Linked DNA regions of Homo sapiens: regions 1, 3, 4 and 5 are each linked to region 2. Evidence: promoter capture Hi-C in 16 types of primary human blood cells and fetal thymus (Javierre and others, 2016). All regions are on one chromosome and are shown on one strand. The core of a region is centred on a gene start or on the middle of the fragment in contact, and the rest is flanking DNA. Distances in the headings are between cores, read along the strand shown.

What was found. The method cuts DNA at HindIII sites, captures the fragments that hold promoters and counts their contacts. A CHiCAGO score of 5 or more calls a contact.
Region 1: a fragment that was not itself captured here is called in contact with the fragment with the promoter of GSX1 in region 2 in 1 of 17 cell types (naive B cells); the score reaches 5.6 in naive B cells.
Region 3: a contact is called between a fragment that was not itself captured here and the fragment with the promoter of GSX1 in region 2, in 1 of 17 cell types (endothelial precursors). The highest score is 5.0, in endothelial precursors.
Region 4: a contact is called between a fragment that was not itself captured here and the fragment with the promoter of GSX1 in region 2, in 1 of 17 cell types (erythroblasts). The highest score is 5.8, in erythroblasts.
Region 5: the fragment with the promoter of GTF3A here is called in contact with the fragment with the promoter of GSX1 in region 2 in 3 of 17 cell types (naive CD4 T cells, total B cells and fetal thymus); the score reaches 5.9 in naive CD4 T cells.

Annotation. Positions count from the first base shown.
Region 1 is chr13:27,398,257-27,401,387 of GRCh38, forward strand. No RefSeq gene overlaps it. Among named protein-coding and RNA genes, the nearest start is that of GTF3A, 25 kb to the right of the region's middle. The HindIII fragment of the contact is 1,657 bases long and covers 814-2,470 here.
Region 2 is chr13:27,790,878-27,794,032 of GRCh38, forward strand. It overlaps GSX1 (GS homeobox 1), which reads left to right and starts at 1,606. Exons shown (of 2, transcript NM_145657.3): 1 at 1,606-2,225; 2 at 2,689-3,155. The coding sequence starts at 1,814. The coding sequence ends at 3,071. RefSeq lists an enhancer at 1,533-2,336. The HindIII fragment of the contact is 6,142 bases long and covers 264-3,155 here.
Region 3 is chr13:27,455,840-27,458,590 of GRCh38, forward strand. No RefSeq gene overlaps it. Among named protein-coding and RNA genes, the nearest start is that of MTIF3, 6.7 kb to the left of the region's middle. The HindIII fragment of the contact is 790 bases long and covers 1,053-1,842 here.
Region 4 is chr13:27,478,464-27,481,469 of GRCh38, forward strand. No RefSeq gene overlaps it. Among named protein-coding and RNA genes, the nearest start is that of MTIF3, 29 kb to the left of the region's middle. The HindIII fragment of the contact is 3,186 bases long and covers 136-3,006 here.
Region 5 is chr13:27,423,369-27,426,136 of GRCh38, forward strand. GTF3A (general transcription factor IIIA) reads left to right here and starts at 1,251. Exons shown (of 9, transcript NM_002097.3): 1 at 1,251-1,570. The coding sequence starts at 1,370. RefSeq lists silencers at 1,076-1,345, 1,356-1,415, 1,516-1,595 and enhancers at 1,686-1,755, 2,706-2,768. The HindIII fragment of the contact is 2,756 bases long and covers 1-1,535 here.

The DNA.
Region 1 (3,131 bases), core at 392-2,891, 390 kb before region 2:
GGCATATGCCCATGTACACAGAATGTGAGAGCCTCGGATATTGTACACACATTGAAATGAAGTATTATTCTTTGCACTTTAGACAAGAAAGTCTAAAGTATATGGCTGATACAGACATATAGGTATTTTACCATACTGATCCAAACTTGTAAAATACTTCTCATTAGCATCGAGAGTATTTATTGAATATCCAGTTTTCATTTTTGTTGTGTGCTGGGCCCAGCAGTAAAGGCGACGTTTTGTCTTTGAGTATAGTGGGGAGCCATGTGACCAAAAAGTGGAAACACGTTTGGCTGAACCCATGACTCATGTCCTAGGAGATGCTGTCAATGCCAGCTCCTGTAGGTGACATCTCAGCTACATTGCCCCACATTTCTGGATTGGGCAAATGTGACAGAAATGTCCAGTTTCTGTTAAAGTTTTTTCCTGTGTTTTTATTAATTTAGGCTGGTGTTGCTATAACATATAACTTTATCCTCAGATATTGAAATTTGGCCAAAATATAGATGGGACTATTTAAACAAGATTTTTATTTCAACTATTTTAGTCACTTGCCCATATGTATTTTTGGCATACATTCAGAGAATCATTTTCCACTTTAGGTTAAGCACTATTTAGTCAGTAACTTGTTGAATGAATGATATTCTAGATTCACAGGTAGTCTCCTCAAAATGCTGCTACGAGAGCTGTCATTTTATTCAGGAAGGGGGTCCAGGAAGGGGTCACGTCTCATCCTCCTCATCCACTAGTCTCAGGACTTCCAGTTTTTAAGACAAATGTACTCATTGTGGCCCAACAGGAGACACCTGCCTAAGCTTGTAAAAGAGTCTTGTTCAAATAACCAGTTTTATATTCTTGGCCCATTGGAGAACTCTGCCGCCACCTGGGCTGGTGCAGGGATGAAGGACTGAAGCATATTCCCGATAAAGTATGCTCACCTGTCTTGTCTTACTGGGCTCACAGCCTCCCCAGAAACAGGGGAGAAGTGACTGTTCTGTTAGGATACCCATAAAACACACATGGGTAGGGAGGTGCCGAGGAAGCAGACCCCAGAAAGCAGGATTCAGTGAGCCACTGGGAGGTGTAGGCAAATCTCAAAATCCATCAGTCCATTGCTCCCTGCACCCTGGTCACTACCAAAATGGGTCAAGTTGAGAGCTAGGTTTACTAGAAACAAAGGAACATTTAAAACTCATCAATGAAGCCCAGCCGGCAAGAAATGCAGAAGCATTTCAAAAACCAAAATGCATTTCCTGTTAAAAGACCTTTTCCTTAAAGCAGTTGTGTCAAGGCACCATCTGGGCACAAAGACACGAGTCTATTTGGAAGTACACAAAGGCTATCAGTGTCGATGTTATTCAGACTGTGAGTAACAGTTCCATTCCTGCCAATGCTGTCTTCATTCTTCCTTCTCCAGGTAGGTCCCTCTTGGAAACCAAACTGGTGGATCTCAAAAGGTTGCCGTTTCCCCTGACTTAAAGAAAGGAAGTTAGGCCTCTGCCCACTTTGTTCGGGCTTCTTAAGTCAAGAATTGTTTGTTGGTTTGTTGTTGTTCAACTTATTATTAAATATTATTGAATAGATGGTGCTTATTTAAATATATTTTTTCTGTAGCATTTTCCAAAGGGCAGATTTTTAGCACTCAAAACTTCAAGATGGCTTCCAAATTTATATAGGCATTTTTATCTCAAGGAGATCCCAGATGAGAGCTCCTCTGAGAAAAGAATATTTTCAAAGTCTTTATTTCCTTACTGAAATAACCTGGGGTAGGAATTGGAACCTGGAACAGGTCAGAAACAGCCCTTAATGGAAGCAGGGCAAGGAAACAGGGCCCGTCCACCTCCAGCACCCTCACTCATTCCAACAAAAAAGTGGAAGCAAAAGATGGAAGGAATGTTTTTGTCTTATTTCTAAATGAATGGATCCTTTTTGAAAGAAATTCAGATCCGCTGTCATTAAAAATCAGATAACATGGGCCAGGCACAGTGGCTCATGCCTGTAATCCCAGCATTTTGGGAGGCTGAGGCGGGTGGATCACCTGAGGTCAGGAGTTCAGGACCAGCCTGGCCAATATGGTGAAACCCCGACTCTACTAAAAATACAAAACTTACCCAGGTGTTGAGAGGTGAAGATAGCTGGACTTCCTGGGTTGAGTGGGGACTTGGAGAACTTTTCCGTCTTACAAGAGGATTGTAAAATGCACCAATCAGCATAGGCAGGATTGTAAAACACACTAATCACTGCTCTGTAGCTACCTAGAGGTTTGTAAAATGCACCAATCAGTGCTCTGTAAAAACGCACCAATCAGTGCTCTTTGGCTAGCTAGAGGTTTGTAAAATAAACCAATCAACACTCTGTAAAATGGACCAATCAGCAGGATGTGGGCAGGGACAAATAAGAGCATAAAAGCTGGCCACTCCCCTCCCCGCCAGCCGCGGCAACCTGCTCCGGTCCCTTTTGATGCTTTGGAAGCTTTGTTTTTTGGCTTTTCACAATAAATCTTGCTGCTGCTCACTCTTTGGGTCCCTGCCACCTTTAAGATCTGTAACACTCGCTGCGTCTGCAGCTTCATTCTTGAAGTCAGCAATACCAGGAGCCCACCAGAAGGAAGAAACTCCAACTCTGGACACAGTGTGGTGGTGGATACCTGTAATTCCAGCCACCGGGGAGGCAGGAGAATTGCTTGAACCCAGGAGGCGGAGGTTGCAGTGAGCCAAGATCAAGCCACTGCACTCCAGCCTGGACGACAGAGCGAGACCCTGTCTCAAAAAAAAAAAAGCATGAAAAAAAAAAAACTTTAAAAATCCACATTTGGCCAATAAAAGGACTCATACAGTTACTAGCATGGAGGAAAAAAGCATTTTTAGTCATTGGATCGGTATCATAAAATGTATAAATCATGTATACATGTCCTTGGAAATGTCCTTTGGTATTGGAATTTGAGTTTTATGATCTGCTTATAACTAAAGTTTCTGGTTAAGTTTTTAAGGGAGAGAAAATGAAAAGCTTTCAAAGCCAACACCTTGTTTCTCAGGACATACCCCAGGGCAGAGTTTTATGACTGCACTAGGCTTTTAGTCACTGGCTGGCACTTTCCTCCTAATTCTCAAAATGCTTCCAGCACTTCCTCT
Region 2 (3,155 bases), core at 356-2,855:
CCCACTCCATGCCAAGCAACCAAGAAAACATTGAACCCTTACTCCTGCTAGATGCCATGCCCTCCATGCAGGTTACTTCTCCCATTGTCCTATTCCCTTTTACAGAAGCAGTTATTATCTCGCAAAACAAATTATCTTTGCTTTTTAATCAGTTATAATCTGTTGCTGTTGTTATTGCAAAGATGTTGCCAAGGATAAAAGCCCATGCAGATGCTTCGGGTTTGGGCAATCTTATTCCTGCGCACTGCTTCCCCAGACCCCTAAGCTTCCCCCTCCATTTCTCACAATTCCATTCAGGGCTCAGAGCAGGTGACTGCAGCGATTTGGTTCCAATAAAATCGAAAGTAAACGTCTCCTGTGAAAAGTCCCGGGCTGTAAATTAGAAATGTTTATGCTGATTTCCCATTGTATGGAAAAAGCTCCTGGGCGAAACAGCTTTGAGCCCGAGAACGATTTAAAAAGCTGGAGCTGTGTACACAGCTCTGAGCGTTTGAAGTTGTTTAACCATTGTGTGACCAGAAAGAAGAGTGACGCGGCAGGAAGAAGAAGCCGGGTCTTGGGGAGAGCGGAGGCGGGTCAGGGTGGGCAAAGGCAGCCGATGCCAGGAATACAACCGCCCTTCGCGCCGTTCCAAACTAAGAGATGGCAGCGGTTTCCCAGCGCACTGCTGGAAGTGTGCTCCAGTAGACAGGGTGTGGGCAAGATGCGCGGGCAGACAGTCCGCACTCGCCACATGTGCTGGGGTGCGAGATCTAGATCTGCGCCATCTCGGCTTTCATTCCCCATTCCCTGTCTCTGTTCGTAACGCTCAGAGACTGTTTTTCCTCTTTTACATCCACGGCCCTGTCATTTGAAGGAAAGGGCTGGTTGGCCAGCATCTACCGAACAAAGACTGGGCGTCGTAGGCAGCACCAAAATTAAGACTATTTGAGAAACTTAGAGAAAACCGAGGGACAGCGATGGGTCTAGGGCTGGATAAGGAATAATGAGCCCTTCTCCTCCCTCCCCACAGACGCCTCCTTCACGCGGGAACCCGGTCCTCCTTCTTCCGACGCAGAGAGAGAAGCGATTCCACAGGTGGAAAATCTGAGACCGGCTGGAGGGAGGTTCGGGGGTGCACGGCACTGAGCTGACAGGGCTGACTGGAGACAGCATACTTTTGGGGTGTAAGGGCGATAATAGAAAGAAGGGGACCAGGACCAAGTGGACAGAGGATATGAGGGTGTGCGCCCATGGGGATCTGTAGAAGAGAGGCCGCGGGGGTGCAAAATCAGTAAGGTGAACGGGCTGATGGCCAATGCAAAGCCAAAGGGGAGTAAGAAATAAAGAGAAAGGAAAGAATATTAAATCGCGGGAGAATGAGAAAATAAACCCGCAAAAGGGAGAGGAGGGGGCGAGGGCGCCTGTTACGGCGTGGGTGGGGTTGACAAGAATAGAGTACATTATGCAGTTCATTTAGTTAACAAGTGAAATAATGAGGAAGCGTGCAGAGTGAATGCCAAGAGAAAAGGCACAAAAACCCTATTGAGAGGCCCCGGCCGCTCCTGGCGTAGTCCATCACATGGCAATAGTCCTATTTAAGCCGCGCCGCCGGCGCCTTTCAGCACCACTAGCGCTGGCCAGCACCCCGCGCTCTTTGGGCGGTGCCCACGGCAGCAGAGGCTACTGTTTCAGCCTAGGTCTCAGCCGCGCGTTCAGCCTCCTGGGCAGAGGCAGCTGCGGGATACCGCGGCCAGGGAAAGCGCGTGGAGAGCCGAAAGGTGCGGTGGGCGCAGAGGGCGGGCTGGCTGCGGGGCGACCGCGCGCCGGGGCCATGCCGCGCTCCTTCCTGGTGGACTCGCTAGTGCTGCGCGAGGCGGGCGAGAAGAAGGCGCCCGAGGGCAGCCCGCCGCCGCTCTTCCCCTACGCTGTGCCCCCGCCGCACGCGCTGCACGGTCTCTCGCCTGGCGCCTGCCACGCGCGCAAGGCTGGGCTGCTGTGCGTGTGCCCGCTCTGCGTCACCGCCTCGCAGCTGCATGGGCCCCCCGGGCCGCCCGCGCTGCCTCTACTCAAGGCTTCCTTCCCACCCTTCGGCTCGCAGTACTGCCACGCGCCCCTGGGCCGCCAGCACTCTGCTGTGTCGCCCGGGGTCGCTCACGGCCCGGCCGCCGCTGCTGCTGCCGCCGCGCTCTACCAGACCTCCTACCCGCTGCCTGACCCCAGGCAGTTCCACTGCATCTCTGTGGGTAAGCGGGGCCGCCGCGCAGAGGGACCGGGCAGAGGTGATCCGAAGCAGGATGGAGAGCCAGAGATGGAGGAAGAGGGACCCTGGGCTTTCTGGGGGCGGTGAGGGTCATGTCGGGGACTAAGGGGGGCGCTTGGGGTGGAGTGAGGATAGAGGGCCGGGACACAACGCCAGGAGGCGGATGAGGGCAGACGTCCAGGTCCTGGAGTGTGGGCCGGGGTAAGTGAGGGCTGGGATCCAAGGCTCTCCATGAAGGGGAAGGGGTTCCAGGGCTGCATGACTCCGGGAGAATCAGGATCTCGGAGCTGGACAAGGAGCGCTCACTGTAGCTCTGCTGTGGATTGTGTTGGGGCGAAGAGATGGGTAAGAGGTCAAAGTCGTAGGATTCTGGCGACCGCCTACCAAGGGATTGGGTCCACAGCACAGAGGTCTGATCGCTTCCTTCTCTGCTCTGCCACCTCCAGACAGCAGCTCTAACCAGCTGCCCAGCAGCAAGAGGATGCGCACGGCTTTCACCAGCACGCAGCTGCTAGAGCTGGAGCGCGAGTTCGCTTCTAATATGTACCTGTCCCGCCTACGTCGCATCGAGATCGCGACCTACCTGAATCTGTCCGAGAAGCAGGTGAAGATCTGGTTTCAGAACCGCCGAGTGAAGCACAAGAAGGAGGGCAAGGGCAGCAACCATCGTGGCGGCGGCGGCGGGGGTGCCGGTGGTGGCGGGAGCGCACCGCAAGGCTGCAAGTGCGCATCGCTCTCCTCAGCCAAGTGCTCCGAGGATGACGACGAATTGCCCATGTCTCCGTCCTCCTCAGGGAAGGACGACCGGGATCTTACGGTCACTCCCTAGGCGCGTGTCTCCCTAGGTCGCCCACCCCAAGACCTCCCTGCGCCTCGGAGACTAGTCCTGGGACTCAGCGCTGATTCCCAGGCA
Region 3 (2,751 bases), core at 198-2,697, 340 kb before region 2:
CTAGTTCTCTCCAGCAGCCACAGGAAACAGAAGAAAGAAGAGGTTAAGGGCCGCCACGAGGGTCAGAATGGGTTAAATTTAGTTAACATCAGAGGTTATAGCTTTTAACAAGAGCTTCAAGAAAACTTATTCGAAGATGCAATTTGTTTCTTCTTTGTCCACTGTTATTTTTTTCCCCCTATTGATAGTGACAGCTTAACAAAGTTTTTATATGCTAAAGGTTTTCATCCCTTAGAGAATAAAGAACTGTGTTCCTAAAAAGAGATGCAGGTGGAAAACTTCATAAAGCTTCCATGATTTCCAAATTGGGAGCTTTGAAATAGGCTCCCTGCTTGGCTAAGTCAAAAATAATCTGTGAAAAAAAAACCTCTATTGGAAATGGAGGAACGCTCCAGCAGTCAGATGCAGAGCTCCAACTTCTAGAAGATTCTTTGTGTGAATTTTTCTCTCGGCCATCCTAGTAAACTTTTCCCAGTTATTCAAAATTATCAAAGCGGCCTTCTCTGTAGGTGCATTTCTTCAAATTTAGAACATAATACTGGGCAGGACTAGTTGTTTATTGCATTTCTATGTAAGCAAAGAAAGATAGCCATAGATTTCTGCGTATGTCCTTTATGCCCGCTCTTAAAATTCTGTTACTCTGCAGTTTCTGTTCAAGAACTGAACTGTTACGGAAATTGGGCTTTCAAAAGAGAGTCATGTAAATTCTAGCGCTTCAACTGGAAATGTATGATTACCTAGGACTGATACTCAGTGTCGCGCATCATACTAAGGCCTTATGTGTTTTTCAGCTGCATTTCTCTGATAAATACGAGGCTTAGCTTTTGAATGAGTTTAATCATTTATTTAGCTGAGATTTTCAAATGCTGAACTTGGGTTTTCAGAGCCATGTTTCTACCTGACGGTCAGCAAGGAAAATGTAATCTACACATCTAAGTGCTGAACTATAATCTGCATTTGAAAATGTGTTTGTTTCAGGTATGGTGAGGACTCATTTAAGTATTATTTGGGAAATAAGATGTTTTATATAAGGCAATCTTCCAGATACCCTAAGCTTACCTCTCAAATCAATACAAACTTCTATATTTTTACCATTATGAATGAAAGTATTTTATATAATGTATTACAAACATTCTTGCTTTCTGAAGTATGGTATGATATTTTTTAAGAACTAGGAGTATCAGTCCAGGCATGATGGCTCAATGCCTGTAATCCCAGCAATTTGAGAGGCCGAGGCAGGCAGATCATTTGAGGTCAGAAGTTCAAGCCCAGCCTGACCAACATGGTGAAACCCCATCTCTACTAAAAATACCAAAAAATTAGCCAGACCTGGTGGCGCATGCCTGTAGCCCCAGCTACTCAGGAGGCTGAGGCAGGAGAATGGCATGAACCTGGGAGGCGGAGGTTGCGGTGAGCCGAGATTGTGCCACTGCACTCCAGCCTGGGCAACAGAGCGAAACTCCATCTCAAAAAAAAAAAAAAAAAAAAGAACTGGGAGTATCATGATTGTACATTATGATATGGTGACATACAACACTTCATACGTGTATTAAGTGCCACTAACTACATGGCCAAACCATCATGGTTTCTGAATTTGAAATTCTGCTTTTTATAGATTTTCCTACCCCTCCCTTGCCATTAGGCTGTCATCTGGCCCTTCTTGTTGCTATAACTGCCTACCCAGTTTTAATAGTTCTCCTCCCCTTCTAACGTTCTACTCAAAGTCAAATTCAGTCTCACCTGGCCTGATACAGGTATTGCCCAAAGAGTCTTCCAGCTTTCCATCTTGCCTTGATCCAAATCAGCCCCCACGCCACTGCCAGGATAACTTTGTCTTAGTAAAGCTTCATGCATACTATCTCCTTGAAAAAAAAAACAAAAAACAAAACTTTGGTGGTTTTCCACGGCCTGCCTGCCCTATTGGATTGTGATTTTCCACTCTAGTATTGATTGCTGTCTGCAACAGATCTTTAGCTGTTGTAGTGAAACAAGTCAATTTCACTACAACACTCAGGCCTTTTTCTAAGAGTCTCTGTTCCTGCACACAGCCTCTGAAAGGGGCACCTTGCACCTAAATGTCCTGTGTCCCACCTCCTCCTCTTGTACATTGTGATGAGACTGGGATAGAAGCCTGGCCTATAGGAAACTAGTTCACAGACTATGACAGCTTGCGAATTTGCTCTGGGAAATTAGTGTTGTCAGAGGGCTTGGGGGGGTGTCAAAGGGTACTTGTGGCAGAGATCCTAGTCCAATAGCCATCTTCCTCTTTCCCAGGTTTTATGCACACATGGCTGCCCAGAATAAAAACAGTATGTTCAGCCTTTCTTACAGAAAGGTGTGATCATGGGACCAAGCTCTGGCCAGCAATTTATATGAGGCAGATAATGGTAAATCCTACTTTATGCCTGTTATCCACACAAGGATTTCAGTTTAGATGACATATTATATGGTCACCTTAAATAAACAGGCATGGTATGTGCAGCTTCCAGGGAGTCCTCTTCCCCTCTTCCTCCTTTCTGCTGGCTGGAAAGCAGACGCAACAGCGGAGCTTCGAAGTCATCCTGGAGCATCCCATCATGGTCTTTGAATTTGCTTTTTATAAGGGATCATGGAATGGAAATCCTGCACAGGAGTGCAGAGAGATGGAAGGCGCCTGGGGGCTCACACCATGGCACATCACACCAGCCAGAGGCTCATTACCTCTGAATTTCTTGAATGTGAGAGAGAAACACGCTCTTATACTGCAGTTGA
Region 4 (3,006 bases), core at 479-2,978, 310 kb before region 2:
GGTACAGAACCATATATGATATAATCTTAGCTATGAATACAACCAACCCTGACACACCCACAAACACACACACAGGCTTGTGCATATATGCAATTTAAAAAAAGACTTCATACTGATACATCATAATGTTAAGAAAGCTTCTTCTGAGTGGCTGGGATTATCATTGGTTTTTAGTTTATTTTTTATTTTTTCTTTCAAAATGTCTATAGAAGCCTATATTACTCTTGTAATCAAAAAAGGTTACAAGAGTAACCTTTTATTTTGTTTCTTCTATAAAATAAAATCTTTTAATGTTTTTTCCTCTATAAAAATACCCTGGAAACTGATTAATTCTTAAGTAGTCATCAGGCAAATTTTTCAGAGGAATTAATTAACAGCTAGCTTAGAGCAAGGCATTGGAGAAATAGAACATGACATTAATATTCCAGGTTGAGGGAAAGATAGAGTGGTGACATGGAAGAGGAGAGGAGCTTGGCCATGCAGGATGATCTTACCAATGCCATGGCTTTCTTACTGGTGTTTATCTGGGACACACACATACACACAGCCTCTTCTTCTGCCATCTCCTAGTTCTGACACTCAGCCCTGAGCAGCCCTCAATCCAGCAGATGGAATACCTCCATGCCCAGGCTTTAAGGCCATAATCAAACTAATACTGTCTTAGTCTATTTTGTGCTGCTATACCAGAATACTTAAGAACATAAACTTTTTTCTCACAGCTCTGGAGGCTGAGTAGTCCAAGATCAAGACACTGTCATCTGGCAAGGGCCTTCTTGCTGAGTCCTCACGTGGCAGAAGACGGAAGAGTGAAAAAGAATCCAACTTCTGCTGTCAAGCCCTTTTAAAACAGTATTAATCTATTCAAAAGAGCAGAGCCCTTGTGACCCAAACACCTCCCAACACTGTTGCATCGAGATTAAGTTTCCAACATATGGATTTTGAGGGACACATTCAGATCATAGCAGATATTAGCAGTCAAGGTCCAACCAGGAAAATGAAAATATCTCCAAATATTTAAAATGAGGAAAATAAATTTAAGAATTGGCTTCATAAATGAAGGAAGAGCTAAGAGGCCAACAGGGACCATGAAGCCACTGAGAGATTAGTACCAGCAGGAAGCCACTCCATGCACTTGGACTGATCGTTTCTGGTAAACCCACGGCTAAAGAAACCACAGAGGGAGGGAAGGAATGTCCTGGTTTCTCCCTTCCTTCCTCTCGTCTTCTACCAGCACCTCCCATGCCAAACCCAGCTGGCAGCAGCTGCCCCTGAATCCCACTGTGATACCAAGCAGGGCAGGGGAAGGAGGAGTAACAGGTCTGAGGGCAGGGAAGCTACAGACTGGACACCACCTATCATTGGGTCAAAGAGCCTGGGAGCTGCCAGCTTGTCCCTTTCCCTCCCACCCTACTCCCCTGCCTGTTAGCAGGATGCACTTGAATCATGCCAGGTAATTTTTTCCTAGTCTATATCATCTTTGTGCCAGATCACAAAGATGAAAATATTACATTAGTTAAAAACGACCTCGTAGTCATTTTCATAAATGAGGGAACTGAAGTTTCAGAATGGCAGTCCCTCTCAGCCCTTGCTTCCAAGTTCCACCAAACTGAGAACAACTTCAGGGGCCAGAGAGGATCAGCTTTATAACTGAAGCTCATATGAAAACTAGTCTGCCCCTGGGCAAGGTAGGGGCTTTCTTCTCCCTTTCCCAAAGTCACCAACTGAAAGTCCTGAATGTCAGCAGGCCGAGAAGCAGGAAGGGGAAATCCTCTAACTCAGGAGGGGCGTCCCCAAGAGCATATAGACCCAAGGAATAGGAGAGGAGGGCTGGGGCTGGAGTTGCTTTTTGGGCACAGTGATCTTACCTCTGCCACTGTGGTCCAATAGACAGAAGGTCTTGCTAATTAGATTACTATCTCTCCCTTGTAGGGGACTGCTATGCTTTGAATGTCCATCCCATCCAAAATTCATGTTGAAATTTAATCCTCAAAGGGGCAGTATTGAGAGGTGGGGCCTTCACGAGATGACTGGATCATGAGAGGGCTCTACCCTCATGAATGGATTAATCTATTCGTGGACTAGTGAATTAATGAGTTATGATAATAGGACTGACTGCTTTACAGGAAGTGGAAGAGAGACCTGAACTAGCATGTGAGCTTGCTCAGCCCCTCACATGTGATGCCCTGCACTGCCTGGGGATTCTGCAGAGAATCCCCACCAGCAGGAAGGCCCTCACCAGATGCAGCCCCTCGACCTTGACCTTCTAAACCTTCATGACTGTAAAAAAGAAATTTTTTTTCTTTATAAATTACCCAGCTTCAGGTATTCTGTTATAAGCAACAGAAAACAGATTAGGACAAGGAGTGAAAAAAGAGGTGAGGCATCCAAAGCTCCCTTTATATTTCCCTGAGTGGTACAAATGTACATAGAAGATCCTATTTTATGAGCCAAGGCAGGAATTAAAGAAATGAAACAGGAGGGAGGCCTCCTCCCACCCACACCTCCACCCTCAACTGTGAAGATAACTTGGGGCATTTGGGGGCTCCCTCAGCATTGAAGTTGTAGTCATGATAGAAAAAAAGGCTACCTGGGGCAAACGGAGTAGGACAAAATAAACCCACCCATACCTGACAACGAGAGATAAACAGATGAGAGATAATCTGTTTATCTCTCATAAACCTCATTTAGCCTCATGTTTACATTTATTTCCAGTTCCTCAGATGGTCCTATTTTTGATAGGTAAATGTAATACAAAGGGATCATACATATGTATAGTTTTAAATTCTGCTTTAAAAAATAACATTATGTTATATATTGTATATTAGTAAGTATTATTCTAAAACATTATATTGGTAGGTTTATAGCAGGTCATCGAATGGCTGCTCAAAATTTAAATGTAGATTGTAAGACTTGCTCTACACAGTGTAAAAATATGGTCATACCTCTGCTATTAAAGCCGCAATTACTTTTGCACCAACTTGTCTTTTTGTTTCCTGTTTTGTTTTG
Region 5 (2,768 bases), core at 1-2,500, 370 kb before region 2:
GAACTGGCGCAAGAGAAACCATTTTAGAATTCCGGAGTTGTGGGAGGGATGAGTGTAGAATTCTCCCATCCATGGACAGGGGCTAGAGTGGCAAATGAAGAAAGCAACAGGTGGACCCAAGGCATAGACACTCTCACAGCCCCGTTATCTTGAGACGGAGGATGACACAGGCGTTATCAACTTTCCCACTTTCAAGATGAGCAGACTGAGGCAAAGGAGTGTTTATGAACTGGAATACTCAGTTCATAAGCACTGATGTTAAGCCCTGGCTTGTTTCCAGAACTGCACTGCTGTGCAGGGACCTGTTCATCACATTCCGACAAGGGCTTAATGATTCGGAATAATGCAGGATGTGAAAAATATGGATCTGGCGAACATCCCCCAAGTCATCCTGCCAGTTATCTGTATCCAAGGACATTTTTTAGGCATGTGGTCCTCATAAACTAAGATACTCATATTCATTCAGGCCTCTCAAAAGTGCTTCTCAGGTTTTGATATGCACTGAATCACCTGGAGATTTGTTTCAAGTAGGTCATCAAGGCTCTAGGGCAGTGTTCCCAAACTTTTCCTTTTTTTTTTTTTTTTTTTCCAACCACCTGGTCAGTTTGCCGGGGTGGGGAAGGGTAGGATGGGGAGACATCTGTATTTATTCTTTTAGAGCTCGGGGTCTCACTCTGGGCTCAAGCGATTCGCCCGCGTACCTGGGACTACAGGTGCGCACTACTGTGCCAGGATAGTGGTTCCCAAACTTTTCTGCGCATTGAAATCACCTAGGAAGTTTCCAAAAATACTGATGCCTGTTTCCTACCCCCAGAAATTGTGATTTAAGTGGTCCAAGTATCCTCTAGGCTTCGGGATTTTGTAAAGCTCTCCACGTGAATCTGAGCTTAGGAACCTCTGAACTGGGGCTTGCAGCAGAAGCACGTAAAGCACGCAAAGAAACGAAACCACACAGGTCACACTAGTAATGTGGCAACAGGCTAACTTAAATTATGTAAGGCTAGTGCTTTCCAGAGTGTACTGGAGGACGGGAAACAAGCCCCATTTAAGCAGTGCCTCGGGATTTGAGTTGCCTGTGAAACGCAGCAGCCTTCTGCCGAGGACGCAGAAACCCCCGCCTCTCATCCAGGGCTGACAGGGCACGGGCCGCGAGCCGCGGCGGGGCCTCCTGGCGCATGCGCGATCTCCCGGAGCATGCGCAGCAGCGGCGCCGACGCGGGGCGGTGCCTGGTGACCGCGCGCGCTCCCGGAAGTGTGCCGGCGTCGCGCGAAGGTTCAGCAGGGAGCCGTGGGCCGGGCGCGCCGGTTCCCGGCACGTGTCTCGGCACGTGGCAGCGCGCCTGGCCCTGGGCTTGGAGGCGCCGGCGCCCTGGATCCGCCGGCCGTGGTCGCCGAGTCGGTGTCGTCCTTGACCATCGCCGACGCGTTCATTGCAGCCGGCGAGAGCTCAGCTCCGACCCCGCCGCGCCCCGCGCTTCCCAGGAGGTTCATCTGCTCCTTCCCTGACTGCAGCGCCAATTACAGCAAAGCCTGGAAGCTTGACGCGCACCTGTGCAAGCACACGGGGGAGGTGAGGGGGGCGAGGCTGCCAACCCTGGGCCTAGGGATGGCGCGTGGCCCCGGGGTAGCCACTGCAGTCGTGGCCAGGGCCGCAGGCCCCGCTGTGCAGCGCGTTCAGCTTTGACATCCAGGACTTGGGGAAGGAGCTGAGGAAGTAGACAGGAAGTTGTAGGACCTTCGTTCTGCGACCTTGATATCCATGGCAGGGGCTCGGGATTTACTAAGCAGTCATTGATCGTGAGTCTCGGCCAGCCAAGTGCCTCCCGTAATCTGCAAATAAGTGTGAGGTTTGAGGGGGCCCACCGCTACTAGACACCTGCCAAACACTGGCCCCTGGAGCTGGTACAGAAGATGGGTTACATGTACCAGGGGTCGTGAAAGCAGCATGTGCTCATTTCTTCGTAACTCCACACTGGAGAGAGCAGTGAGCAAAACAGGCAAACCCAAGGTTTCTGCTGCCATGGACCTTTGTTCCTGGGTCGAGCCGACCACAGGATAGGTGGGAATGACATGCAGTGTTGTGGTCAGGAAAGGCCTCTCTGTGTGAGCCGTGTAAGAAGGAAGGATCTAGCCATGCAGACATTTGTGCTAGGTAGAGAGAACACAAAGGGAGCCTGTGACCCTTGGGGTGGGAGGCAGGTGGGTGTGTTTGGGTGCGGAGATCACCATATGAGGTCTGAGAAGTAGGCCCATTAGGAGTTTGGATTTTATTTTGAGGGCAGGAGAATGTCAGATACCATGATATGACGTGGCAGCCCATGTCACACACAAGTGAGGAAAACGAGGGTCATGGAGGTCAAGGAATCTGCCCAGCTTCCCAGTTTTTGGCAGAGCTAGGCTTCACACTGCCTCAGCTTAAAGCCCTTAATTTCTTAAACCACTGGGCTGCAGTCCATACCTTTGCCCCTTGCACCTCCTCTAATTTATGGGCCACCTTCTCCAGGTGTCCTCCGGGGCCTCATTCCTTAACCTCTCCAGCACTGGAAGGCCGACCGCTTCTTCCTTGAGACCTTCTCTGGTTCTTTTCCTCTTCCTCGTCTGCCCTTTTCGTTGGATCCTCTTCTGCCCTCTGCATGTTCCACCCCGCCCAGCTCCCTCTTGCGGTCTTACATAGCCACCGGCATGACTCATAACATCCTTTATGCTTTGCCCCTCTGCCCTTCCTCTTGCCCGTTCTAGCCTCTAAATTCTGGGCTCTGTATTACCAG